5 separate regions of the Homo sapiens genome follow, and regions 2, 3, 4 and 5 are each linked to region 1. The links are contacts of gene promoters, found by promoter capture Hi-C in blood cells and fetal thymus (Javierre and others, 2016). All regions are on one chromosome and are shown on one strand. The core of a region is centred on a gene start or on the middle of the fragment in contact, and the rest is flanking DNA. Distances in the headings are between cores, read along the strand shown.

What was found. Contacts are between HindIII fragments. The CHiCAGO score rates a contact against its expected background, and 5 or more counts as called.
Region 2: a fragment that was not itself captured here is called in contact with the fragment with the promoter of CETN3 in region 1 in 1 of 17 cell types (total CD4 T cells); the score reaches 6.1 in total CD4 T cells.
Region 3: a fragment that was not itself captured here is called in contact with the fragment with the promoter of CETN3 in region 1 in 1 of 17 cell types (non-activated CD4 T cells); the score reaches 8.9 in non-activated CD4 T cells.
Region 4: a fragment that was not itself captured here is called in contact with the fragment with the promoter of CETN3 in region 1 in 2 of 17 cell types (total B cells and total CD4 T cells); the score reaches 7.3 in total B cells.
Region 5: a fragment that was not itself captured here is called in contact with the fragment with the promoter of CETN3 in region 1 in 7 of 17 cell types (non-activated CD4 T cells, naive B cells, naive CD8 T cells and 4 more); the score reaches 10.8 in non-activated CD4 T cells.

The regions. Positions count from the first base shown.
Region 1 is chr5:90,408,466-90,411,040 of GRCh38, forward strand. It overlaps CETN3 (centrin 3), which reads right to left and starts at 1,291. Exons shown (of 5, transcript NM_004365.4): 1 at 1,180-1,291. The coding sequence starts at 1,196. LOC731157 (a long non-coding RNA gene) reads left to right here and starts at 1,535. Exons shown (of 2, transcript NR_105024.1): 1 at 1,535-1,839; 2 at 2,035-2,204. RefSeq lists an enhancer at 1,061-1,260. The HindIII fragment of the contact is 6,726 bases long and covers 1-1,381 here.
Region 2 is chr5:94,621,909-94,624,483 of GRCh38, forward strand. All of the region lies in intron 1 of SLF1 (SMC5/6 complex localization factor 1), which reads left to right. Among named protein-coding and RNA genes, the nearest start is that of SLF1, 4.5 kb to the left of the region's middle. The HindIII fragment of the contact is 2,946 bases long and covers 1-2,575 here.
Region 3 is chr5:94,112,416-94,114,990 of GRCh38, forward strand. LOC105379087 (a long non-coding RNA gene) reads left to right here. Exons shown (of 7, transcript XR_001742441.2): 3 at 1,140-1,250; 4 at 2,332-2,386. Among named protein-coding and RNA genes, the nearest start is that of ARB2A, 2.0 kb to the left of the region's middle. The HindIII fragment of the contact is 1,727 bases long and covers 407-2,133 here.
Region 4 is chr5:87,369,408-87,371,982 of GRCh38, forward strand. It overlaps RASA1 (RAS p21 protein activator 1), which reads left to right. Exons shown (of 25, transcript NM_002890.3): 12 at 406-493. It also overlaps a transcript of CCNH not described here. Among named protein-coding and RNA genes, the nearest start is that of CCNH, 42 kb to the right of the region's middle. The HindIII fragment of the contact is 1,806 bases long and covers 373-2,178 here.
Region 5 is chr5:87,407,345-87,409,919 of GRCh38, forward strand. It overlaps CCNH (cyclin H), which reads right to left. Exons shown (of 9, transcript NM_001239.4): 3 at 1,946-2,019; 4 at 632-842. Among named protein-coding and RNA genes, the nearest start is that of CCNH, 4.3 kb to the right of the region's middle. The HindIII fragment of the contact is 6,127 bases long and covers 1-2,575 here.

The DNA.
Region 1 (2,575 bases), core at 41-2,540:
TGACAAATATTAGATGCCAATATACAATGTTTGTGCTTCATTCTATATAAAAATGTGATGAGTCTTGTCTCATTTAACATGTAAACCGGAGGTTAACTTCTCATAAACTCTGGAAACGCTTAAAGAAAAAAAGCAAAAATTATTTTAAAGCCAGAAATGTTTTCCTTAAGAGCTGCCCATCTAAATGTGCTCCAAATTTTCAAATGGAGCCGCAACACTGGAATAACGAGTTTTGAAACACAATCCGGTAACACATTAACATGTCAAACCAGTTGACTGTACTTAAAACACCTATCTAGTTGCATTTGAAAGTCGTTTTGGTCTCTGAAAGCTCCAAAAAAAAAAAAAAAAAGCTAGGAAGTGACTAGTAGGTGCAGTATAACAAAGCTGAGGAAGATCTTCCTTTCATGAGACCTGACTTGACACAAACTTGGGTATTCCTGGGGTCAGTCTTTTCCTTCCTGAGACTTTTGGAGGCCAAGTCCAGAACCGACCCACCCCTGACCCCATCCAAGGGTACCATGATTATCCCTTAGCAGAACATGGAATATTTTCGGAGTGTCGTAAGTGTATGGATAGTTTTACGGTACAACGTCTACATAGTGGGAGAGGGCAACAGAGGGTTAGAGGTTAGAACTGAAAGGTAAAAAAATGCAAGAAATTTAGGAAATCCAAGAGACAGACTGCCAATTAAAGTCACTAAAATGGGTCTCCAATTACACCGTAAAGCAGGGCCCTGGGAGAAGAGGAAAGAGTTTTTGTTATTTCCAAAATTTATAGGTGGGTGATTGCATTAGCAGCGGAGCAGCCGAGGTGGGGCCCTGACCAGGCACACGGATGAATGAAGGGATGTCCGCGACCTGATCTGAGAAACAAGAGTAGAAGCCTCGCGATATTTCATTCCCACCTCGCTCGCAACTAAGCCCAACCTTCTGGCAGTCCAAAGCCCTACGCGCTGACAGAAATAACCTCCTTAGCAGAAATGCACTGGTCTCGTTCCCTGCAGGGCATCAGAGCCCAGAGGGTGAGTGATCCGGGCAGGCTGCCCTAGGCTCCTTTCCCGCGTCCCAAACTACATCCCCTGCCTCGCCTCGGCCCCAAACGTCCTCCCTTCCACACACACCCTCCCTGGGCCCCGCTCCGGGGTGTGGAGAGCACTGCCGCCTCCTTATTACCGACCTCAGAGCTAAACTCATTATCTCTTCGCACAGAGACGTTCCTCTCAAGAACGATTTTAACCCCCTACCCAAGGCAGCAAGACGCCCACAGCCGTTCAACAGACACGAACGACCTCAGCGGCCTCAGGGACCTCCCACAACATAGACACTTTTGAGCTGGATTGGTTGAAATGTCGCTATGGTTCTGCCTATTAGGGGGCGGAAGCTTTACCAGTTCTATTTTCATTGGGTAGGTTTTACGTCAATCAAGGAAAAAAAAATTTTTTTTCTGTGCCCCGCCCACCTCCTAACGCCCCCCCGCCCCCCCAATCTAGGGCCGCTCTCGCCCTTCGGATTGGCTCGATGCGTTTTTCCCCGAATCCTTTGCGGGTCCGGCCTCCGATCCCTGTGTGGCTGTTTGGCGGGTGGGCGCTGTGTTCCTCTCTCGTAAAGCCGTGCGGTCTGTGGGCCGCCATTCAGAAACTGGATGGACAGCTTCGGCGGTGGGAAGGGAAGGGACATGCTGCAGGCCACCCTCCGGCTAGAAGGAGGGAGTACTTGAGGAACAAGGTCTGCGAAAATTGGCTGTGCTCTGTTCTAAAACTTGGAATGGCCTCAGTACCTGGGGAATGTGTTTAAAATGCAGACTTAAATGTCCGTTTCTCCATTCTAATTTCAGTAGGTATGAATCTGCGTTTTTACTCCTCACAAGCCTTCCAAGTGATTCTGAGGCAGGTGCTGTGGCTGTACTTGGATTATCACAGGGTTAGATTATCAGGCTATTTATGATTTAGCTGTATCTAAACCACCTTTCCCTCTCTTTCCTCCTTTGAACTGTTTGAAACGGATTTGTTCCCTTCTGTCTCTTATTTTTCAGTGCTGTAAGCTGTTAACACACATGAGACTGTCTTCACTACCAAACCAAGTCTCCTAAAGCTCACTTGAATGTCTGCTTATTCGTGTCTCTTACTAGGTTCAATTTCTTGGAGGCCGTGATTATATCTATTTAACGCTTTTCCTTGTACCTAATAAAATGTCTGGTGCGTAGGTGCTCGGTAAATTGAGTGGAATCTTTTGAAAATCCACAAAATACTGAGCTAAACAGCAAATCTCATAAACGTGAATAAAATAGCCTGAGGATGGGAGTTGAAGGCGGAGAATATATAAACATTATATGTTTAAGGGATGTATATAAAATTTTAGAGAAGGGAGAGAACACAAGATATGCTTCTTAAAGGAGGTGACATAAACGTTAGACCTAGAAGGATGGGCTAAATTTGCACAAGGAAAGATAGTATGATAGAATAAGCTAAAAATTAGCTAAGGGATAGCACCCCTAAAAAACAAAAGTGGAACTTTTATTTTGTTCGTATTTTAAATTTTAAAGTACCTTTATAAATCACCTTTGAGTCTAAAAG
Region 2 (2,575 bases), core at 22-2,521, 4.2 Mb after region 1:
CACACGTGCGTGTGCATCTCTCCTATCTTTGAAGGATGGGGCAGGAAATAGACACTGTGTCTTTAAAAAAAAAAGTCTGAAGGCCAGCTGAATGATATTAAACCAAGGGCCTAATTTGGCTCCTAGGCCTAAAGGGGCCAGAATTTCTAAACGCCACTTGTAGTTAAACGTCAAACAGTATTTTATACACACAGTATAAGTACTGTGACATGTGTCTACCTTTTGCAATATTGGTTCAAACAGAGATCCAACACTTGGACCCTTTTCAGTTTTAACAGTTATTTGTTTACTTTCCCAGTTAAATGTTTTGAATAAGAGAAATGAAAATTTTTCAGACTGTTTAATTCAGAGCAGAAATCTTGACTGCATTCAGTGCTTGGTATATGCTTTTCAGATGAGGGGAGTTTCAAATAATTTTCCTTAGTTTGCTGTAAAAGTAGGTTTAAAATCAAAAGAATTCACCAAAATAACAAACACTGAGAAACCACTAGTTTTCATCATGACCTTAAAACCATGAAGAGTATTAAGTGGCATGGAAAAATGATCACAATATAACATTACATAAAAATGAAGATATGAAACAATGTAATATCCAAATTTTGTTATATATATTTTTTACACTCAGATAAAACCTAAAAGTCAACATCCCTCCCCAGTGTTAACAATGGTATTACAGGCTGAAGGGATTAGAGATGATTTTAATCTTTCTATATACTTTGTAATATTTTTCAAATTTTCTATAATAAGTGCATGTTAAAATTGAAAGACAAGTCTGTAAAGGTTATTTTGGGGGGAAAACTTTAGTTCTTAAATATAAATATATAAATCAAAGTTTTTTTATTAAGTCTTAAATATTTATTTTAGCTAATGATACCATACAATTTATTTCTAAGATTACTTCTCTTTTATGGGTAGGGCTGGTTATAAAAGAAACCAGCCCTATATAATGTAGAGTAGGGAAAAGTTTATCCTTATTTTCCTTACAAAACCCCATTTATGCATCCCTGTCTCTCATTTTTGTAGCACCTTCCGCTTTTTCCCAAGGGTTGTACCCTGCTCTTTCATCTTGCCTCTCAAACCAGACTTTTGTATTCATATCTGTATTCCTGTCTTTCCTTGTCTCTGAGCTCAATTTTCAACATGTTCTTCAAACATGTTCTAGCTATGTGTTACATTATAAAGAATTCAAAGAACCTAAAAAGCTAGTTTATAATAAATAGTGTTCTTAATTAAGATGAAGAGTTCTATAAGTTTTCTTTGCATTTTGGACTGGCACCAACTACAAAGGAATTTCAGGCATCAAGAATAGGCCCATGTGGGAGATATTTTGGGAAACTCCATACCACAGAGACAGTTGCTTGCTATGCATAAAGGCCAACTCTGTTTATAGTCATTGTCTCCTTAGTTGTATTTTATTGTTCAAGGTAAGTAACTAATTTTTGTTAATTATAGATAAGATTTTAATAATTACTACAAAAGGACATTTTCTCATAACCAAGAATGTCATATAATTTTAATTTTTTTGACAGTAAAAATAAAACTTAACTGTCAGAAGTCATGCTCTCTTTTTTGCTTTTTTTTTCCCTCCTTTTTTTTGGTGTTAAGATAGTATCTTCTGTATGAATGCTCCAAGGAACACCCCCTATTAGTTCTAGAAAGATCTATAATTTTTCTAAAAATAACCACTGGTACAATTATATTATGGTATATTTACTTTCCTTCTTGTGCTGCAAGACTTCTAGAAGTTAGCTCTTGATCCTCCCTACCTCAGACATATCACTTACACTAAACTTGACTGTACTTTAAAGGATTTTTAATTGTCTGGGTTATTGATATATGTTAAACCAATTATAGTGCTCTTTTTGGCCTCATTAACATATCAGGTTTATTGTATTCTTAATCCTGCAGGGTCAGAAAGAACCATCAAACCATGAATTTTATAAATAAATCAATCAGTATATCTATACATGTTTATATCTATTCCTACATATATAGTTTTCCTGTGTAACTGCATGAATTAGATCCTGTAATACAGGTCATTCACTTGTCATATCATGTGCTGTAAAAAAGCATTGCTAAATGTATTATAAACTGTTGTTTCAAGTAGATAATTTTATTCTAGAAAACTGTTACAAAACTGTGCTAGTTATTTTGGGCCGTCACTGGGATTCCTGATTCTGTTAAAGTTTAGCTAGTAGCTCAGTTTTTCTGATAAATTTGTGACTAGAATGTCCTGTATTCTGATTTGTCTTTAAACATATCCATATTTTATGGATAATGTTTGAATCAGGACATTCTGTTTTTTCACCTTTGTTTCCTACTTCCCTTTCCTCCGCATGTTTAACTTCAGTTTCATATTTAATCATTTTCAAAGGAAATAAATTGCTTTAAAAGGCTTTCCTGATTTCTGCTATTATGCAGTTAGTCCTATTTTCATTTTACTATGGGCTCTTGCTTTGACAGAAAATGCTGTTAAATATACAAAGTGGGTCATTTCCATCATATTTATTTTATTATAAAGACCATATGGTTTAAGATGAAAACTGCTTTACACACTAACTCCAGTAAATCCAAA
Region 3 (2,575 bases), core at 20-2,519, 3.7 Mb after region 1:
TTCCACACTGTTTGTACTTTGCAAATGTACCCTGCCCCCTAAAATGTAAACTCACTGATGGTAGTGACATAATCTTGTCTTTTTAATGTATCCTCAACCATACAACAGTGCCTGTCCACAAAGTAGACAATAAATACTTATTGAATGACTGAATGATCACAGTGGTAAATAATAGATTGGGGAAATCTAGAAAAGTGTATAGGACAAGAAGAAAGTGGTGTAAGTAAGTGGCGGGAGATAAGGAGCAGTAAAAGGTGAGAGAATCCACTGGAGTTAGCCAGAACTGAGTACCTGAATGAATCTCGGGCATTGCAAGACTGTTAGGGCTTCATTTCCGGAAAGAACTCAAATGGTTTGTAGAGTGACACTTTATACTGAAGAGGAAGGCAACAGCCAGATTCTGAAAAGCTTTCTATGTCATGCTGAGTAATTTGATTTTCTGCTGCAGACAATTGGGGAAGCTGAAGGATTGTTGAACAGAGGAGGGAAACATTTTTATTTTGGTGGACTTTTGCAACAGTGACAGATTATATTAAAAAGATAAGGCTCCCAAAAATGTATAATCCCAGTTTAACCATGAGAAAAACATCAGACAAAATACCTGACCAGTACTACTCCAAACAGTTAAAGTCATGAAAAACAAGGAAAGTCTGAGAAACTGTCTGAGCCAAGAGGAGCCTAAAGAGACCAACTTTAATGTTGGATCCTGAAATAGAAATAGAACGTAAGTGAGAAAACTAGTGAAAATTGAATAAAAAAGTAACATTCCATTAAGAGAATATACCAATGTTTACATAAAATATGGAGATTGGTCAAAAGATGAGTGACATGACCTTTCAATATTTCCAGGATAGAGGCCCACTCAAGGGTTAGGGGAATGTACTTTGTTCAGTAGTAAACTATTGAACAAACATATGGGTGCTTCAGCCTGCAATTCCAGCTGGACTTACATGGGAATGAATGAGCCTTCAGATTGTTCCTGTCATTGAGTCAGCTGGGGTCCAAAATTTCATAAAGCAGAGACGAGCCATCCCCACTGTGCCCAGTTCTGAATTCCTGACCCACAGAAACAATTAGAGATAATGAAAATGATTCTTGTTACTTTAAGCCAGTAAATTTTGGAGTGATTTGTTTTTCAGCAAAAGAAACTAATAGCTGTATGACAACAGCCAAAGAGTAAATATCCTTTCAAGTCCAATCCTGCCTAAGATGTCAAAATCAAGAATGAAGAGGTTATGTGCTGAAACAGAGTGAGTCCTTTTCTCTCCTTACTCTACCCTAAATGGTAAACTCCTGCCTCAGCTGACCACAAAAATATCTTCTGCAAATCTGTGAGGAGAAAGGAGGGAAAGCAACAAAAATTGTATGTGGGCTTAGATGTTTTGTTAGAATTACAACAGCCCATGTGTAGCTTAGCAGAAACCATTACAATGATGACTACACAATATAGTACAAAAATGTCCCCTCATTTTAACCATAGTCATCTAAACTGTACAAGTTAGTTTATAATTTTAATTTATACATCTCTAGGGAAGCCAGAAACTTCAGTTTCTCTCCCCACCTCTCTTCTCTTGCACTTCAAAATCCTACTAAGATAAGGAAAAAGGAAAGGAGATTTGTTCCCTCCTGGCTAACAGCTGGTCCATCTTTGATCACTAGGATGATCAAAGAAATGTCCCTATACCATATTTTGCGTATCCTCCTCCTATTCCAGACCACTTCCTTGGGCATCTATCTTTTTATCAATCTACTCCCACCCTTCACATTAAATGATTTCAGTGACATACAGCAGACAGACACCTCCAAAAATACTAACAAGGCTACATGTTGTTCATTTAAGTTAAAAATAAAATTTAAACCTACTTATCATGACTAGGACTCAGTGCCAACATTTTGGCAGCTCAAGAAAATCCATTAAGGAAAATATTCTTAATTAGATGCTAAGGGCAAAGCTCTGTCCAAACTAACCAACTGTATTAGAATGAGGTCTGGATTCTGACTTAAATTTGGAGAATCAAGTAACATTCCTGCCCTTGCTCAAGCCCAAGCAGGAATGTGCTGTGGTTTGAATGTGTTCTCTAAAAATTCATGCATTGGAAACATAATTGCCATTGTAATAATATTAAGAAGTGAAGCTTTAAAGAGGTGATTTAGGTGATAGGGACTGTGCCCTCATAAAAGGATGAATGCCATTATTGTGGGAGTGGGTTAGTTATCATGGGAGTGAGCTCCTGATAAAAGGATAAATTTGGTCCCCATTTTCTCTCTGTCTTGTGCACTCTCACTACTCTGTCTCACCCTCTCTCCCCCTGTGATGCTTTCTGCCACAAGATGACCTTCACAAGATGCAGCCTCTGGATCTTGGACTTCCCCAGCCTCCAGAACTGTAAGCCAAATGAATCTCTTTGTTTATAAATTACCCAGTGTGTGGTATTCTTACAGCAGCAGAAAATGGACTAAGACAGTATGTGTGAAGTGTGGATAGTAATTACAACAAGTTCTGCCTTCTAGATTCAGTTTATATTTAAAGCCCAAAAAGTAGGATCATATAACCAAATAATTTCTAATGACCCCT
Region 4 (2,575 bases), core at 26-2,525, 3.0 Mb before region 1:
ATCACCTACAATCTCCTTAGAGATAATTACTTAGAACATTTTTGGTCTAAGAACATTTCTAGTCTTTTTCCAGTGCATATAAAGCTTTTCAAATTAGCTGTGTGCAGTTCTAGCAGTTCAGCTTCAATCTGTTTGTAACTTTATTTCTAATGTATTTTACAATTAATTGAAATTTCTTTAGTTTACACTTTGAAATACTGATAACATTTTAATAGTGCTGACATAAAGTTTTCTAAAATATATATAGCTGACTTTTTTTTAGTAATGATCTGGTACAATGGAGTATTATTTCTTTAAGAATTATAATTTTATGTTAATTATTTATTGTGAGTGTTTTGGAAGCTGGTATAAATATTTTGCTACTTTTTATTAAGCTTCCTAATAATTTTTGTTTTTATTTTAAAGGCCAAACTGTTTTCAGATAGTAGTTCAGCACTTTAGTGAAGAACATTACATCTTTTACTTTGCAGGAGAAACTCCAGAACAAGCAGAGGTAAGATTACTGTTTCTCAAACTACAGTATACTTTTATGTTAGCCCATGTTTTCTTATTAACTGGAATAGAAAATGATCGCATTCAAGATAAAGTGACAGAACGCCTGAAATCTAATCATCTCTTATTTTAAGGAATGAGATTTCATATGTAAAAAGTTTTCTGAAAGAAATGCAAAAACAAACACAGTGAAGGGTTATTAGGAATGAAAACTCCATTTTAAATTGACCTTTAAATACTCTATGATGTTGAGGCCAACTGAGAATGCTCATTTAAAATCCTCTCTGCATAAAGGTTATAGGTCATCTCAGTATAATCCAAAGGTAAGCCAGTTAACCAGTTAGTTTTGCTAACAAGCATTATTCTTCACTGGTTGAACTCCATGTCTGAAAATAAAAGTCAGTCAACACAAGGAAAGATATTTTAGGAATCTATTCTCTAAGCCAAGTCGAGATATAATGTCTACTTTAGATTAGCTATTAATCCATGTGCAGTGTCCTTCTTATAGCGTCTATTAAGTAATTGTGTGAAGAAATAATATTTTTTAAAAAACACTCTTTAAAAAATATTTTGCAACAAAGGGAGAACCCACCTCTATAACAAAAGTAAAAAATTAGCTAGGTGTTCTGGCTTATGCCTGTAGTCCCAGCCACTGGGTAGAATGAGGCAGGAAGATTGCATTAGCACAGGAGTTTGAGTTACAGTGAGTAAGATCGAGACACTGTAAGCCAGCCTAGGCAACAAACTGAGACACTGTCTCTTAAAAAATTTTTTTGCTTTCTTTGAACCCTAATATTTCTGGAGTATATGGTTGTATTTTATACAAATACAGCTAAATTTCTGCTTATATTCTAACGAAGGAACTTAAAGGTGGTTAAGAAGTGAAAGTGGCTTTGTTGGAAATATAATTTGCCAACCCTAGATATGAGGAAGATGCTCTTAAAACTAGATCCTAGCGTGAGACTCACAGAATAAACCTGAATGAGCTTACAACTGAACGTCATATTTCACATCTTTATCAAATATCTCATTTAATGCTCATTTCACATGTAATGCACATAAAATTTTACGGCTATGTATCCCTAATTTTTAGATGAGAAAGGTAGTGCTCAAAACATTTTGGTAACTTACATGATTTTTTTAAATGTTAGAAATTGAGTTAGAAATTTAAACTTCAGTATCCTATTTTCTAAGTATTTTACCATGGTCCCTCTTTCTGAATAAAATGTCACATACCATAATGACATTTCAGCATGTTTTGCAAGCCTAACATAGAACATTTTTTAATGTATTTATACATAATATTTCTGTATTTCCATAAATGGTATTTCCAGTTTTTGTTGATTTATTGGGCTGTGGGGGTCTCTGGTTATTCTCTTCTATTTCAAAAAGCTATGGTAACTGATTTGGTTTTAATTTGCTGTAATATAAAGACAGTCTCTAGATATTAATAAAGTTCAGCTTCATTGAAATAGCCAACAAACTAAAGACATAATTGAATAAAGCAATAGTACACAGCTTTCCAGAAATATGTAAAAACCAAAGTGAATATTTAGATTTGTTTTTAATAAACCTTAGTTCTCTCCTTTTCCCCAAAGCACTAGATAAACATTTTAAAAATATGGCTGCAATTTGATTTGAATATTAGGCTAAAATGATTTTTAAAATCTAATGTTATATTTGAGAAGCTTAAAAATAACCCAAATCCCCTTATACATTTCTACCTGTATCATGGTCTAAAGTATAGATTAATATGCTTGTCATGGGATCGGTCATCACATTATCAGTTGGTTTTACAATCAGCACTCTCCCCCTCTCACAAAGTGTATCAAGTTAAATTCCACCTAAGCTTGCCTCAAGTATAACAGCTTAATTATACAGTTAATTTCCCCAAGGTAGTATCTGTTTGGGAGAAATAGTTTCTTTAATGTAAATTTGATTTTTTGGCTAATTAATGGCCACTCGATGTGTTTCATACATAAATTCAAACAAAGATTTATACAGAATTACAATTGTTTTGGTTGTTTTATTATTGTTATTGTTATGTTATTGTTATTTTATTATTGGTTATTGTTATGAAGTA
Region 5 (2,575 bases), core at 33-2,532, 3.0 Mb before region 1:
AAGCACAAAGTTTGGCACATAGAAGGTACCCAAATTGAGCCACTGATCTAACATGAATGAACCAATTCCTGATTTGATTCGACTCAGACTATCCAACTTCTCTTTTAGAGCCAAACAAAACAACTTAAAAAAGTTGCTTTTGTCAATGTTTGTTTACGTATATTATTGATGCCTACATAGTGACTTAAGTTCACAAACCTCTAAAAATATAAGTCACTTAGCAATCTTCTAGTTTAAGAATTTTTTATGGTTTAAATCAGGCCCAGATCCATGACAATATAATTCAAAGTTAGAAGAGTTATCTTAAGCCTTTATAGTAAGCACCGTTCTAAACTCTCAATGGTCTTCATTACATCCCTGGATGTAATGAAGATCACTTAAATGAGATTGCAGATCACTTAAATCAGAAACTCTGTAAGTCCCACCCAACAATCTCAGTTAACAATTTCTCCAGATGACTGATGATGCCCACTGAAGTTTGAAAACAACTGCCCTAGATGACCAGGCCAGACCCACAGGTTGTATCCATGCTATAACAACGAGGATGATTATGAGTTTTAAAATTTTGGATTCTTTTGTTAAAGAATAGGAAAGGAGAATGTAGTATTAGTTTATTTTACATCAAGTTTACCTTTAAGTCGATGAGGAAGCCCTCAAATGGTCTGTAAGGATTGTGGACAATAAGGTGGAAATTAAGTTGCTGTATAAGAAGTAGTTCATATTCCAGTATCTGTTCAAGTGCCTTCTCCTGTCCAAGAGGACTCTCCCGGAGGTTTCCAACAAACTGAGGACTAGATACATTGAATTCATCTACTTTGCAGGCCAAAAATGCACAAGTGAGCCTAGAGGAAAAAATAAGGAGGCAGGAGGCAGGGGGTGGGTGGGGTGGAAGAACATGCATATACTTTGAGAAGTATCTAAATAATTTATTTCTAAAAGTATATTCTATAATTGCCTAATATTCAAAAGCGACTGCTAGACATTGCAAGAATTGTTTTTTAAAAGACACTTCCTGTTCACACTTCATTAGGAGACGTAAGACAACTATAAAATTAGGTCAAACCAATATTGCCATGGCATTCAAACATCACTGACTCAATGACAGTGTTATGCAGTACAACCTAAATATCTGGAAAAACAAATTAACTGAGGAATAAGAGTACTTTGTATAATGTAGATGGAAGAGTTAAAAATAAAGCAGTACCCACATATGTACCATGTAAGTATGGGAAGAAAAGTAGGTTAAAGGAACATTGTGGAAGGCCATCGGCAGAAGTCTCTAAGGGCATCTGAATAAGGGACTATTATTTAAGGGACAAACTTGTGAAATTCACCTGGCCACTTCATGCTGTTCAGTATGAGAAAACAGTAAGAAAGCTACTGTAAAAAACAGTTGGCAGTGAGATCAAGGGCCTAATCTTGACTGGTGGAAATGGGAATCAAAAAAGAGAAAACAGGTACAATGTCATTGAGAGCAAACTCTTTGATGAGTTTCATACTAATTTCATTTTTAATGATAGACACAGCGCTCAGCAGAGAGCAGCAACAACAGACCTTTGTTCAACTGAAATGAGTATGAAGCTATAGGATCCGTAAACTGACTGGATGTGGGAGGGGCCACTATAAATGATTCTCAGTCTGAACAACTGGAAGAACAAAGGTGTCTAATAGGAAGAGATGTTAGAGAAGTAGCTAATTTGAGAAAAACAAAATTTGAATCTGGACAAGCTGAAGTTCACATACCATCAGAATTACTGAAGTACAGGTAAACAGAGATCTCAAGTTCTGAATAAAAAAAAAAAAATAGAATTCAAGTCTAAATTACCCTGTATTAGGAAGTCAGTTCTCTCTCTCTCTCTCTCACAATTCTCTCCTCCCAAAAAATACTCAAAAGATTATAAAGGTCTTCTTAAATGAAAACAATATATTAGACAGACATACTCACATTATTATCCTGGGGTGATATTCCATTACTGAGTTATTAAGATAAAAACGTTTGAAATACATACAAGCCGTACCCTAAGGGTTAAAAAAAATATATCATCAGGATCTAGTCACAAATGTTAAATGTTAAATTTTGTGAAACAGAACTTATTTATGGAAAGGTTTCTTTGTAGAGATTACCCAGAAAAATACTAATACTCATTAATTCTTCTTTAATCAAAACAAATTGTGATGAATTACTACAGAAATGCCATAGCCAAAAGATTCTTTCCCATCCTTTGCTTGTCTATCCCCAGCCTACTCTGGCTAATCCTTCCTATGGTCACTGGATTTAAAAATACGTGTGTGTGTGTGTGTGTGTGTGTGTGTGTGTGTATTAGAAATCAGACTATCAAAAATGTTCTGAATTAGATAAATTCAGGAAGAAAAATACAAACGTTCACAGATTAACCAATCTTATAAAAATACTGACAAAAAAACATGGGCAAGGCAATAAGCCTTCTCTCTAAAGCCACTCCATATTTGTGATATAACCATGTATCCATTCCATGATTTGTGATCACTGCTGCCAACTGAATGGCAGAAGCAGCACTACCATTTATTGAATGTATACCATGTGCCAGACTCTGTG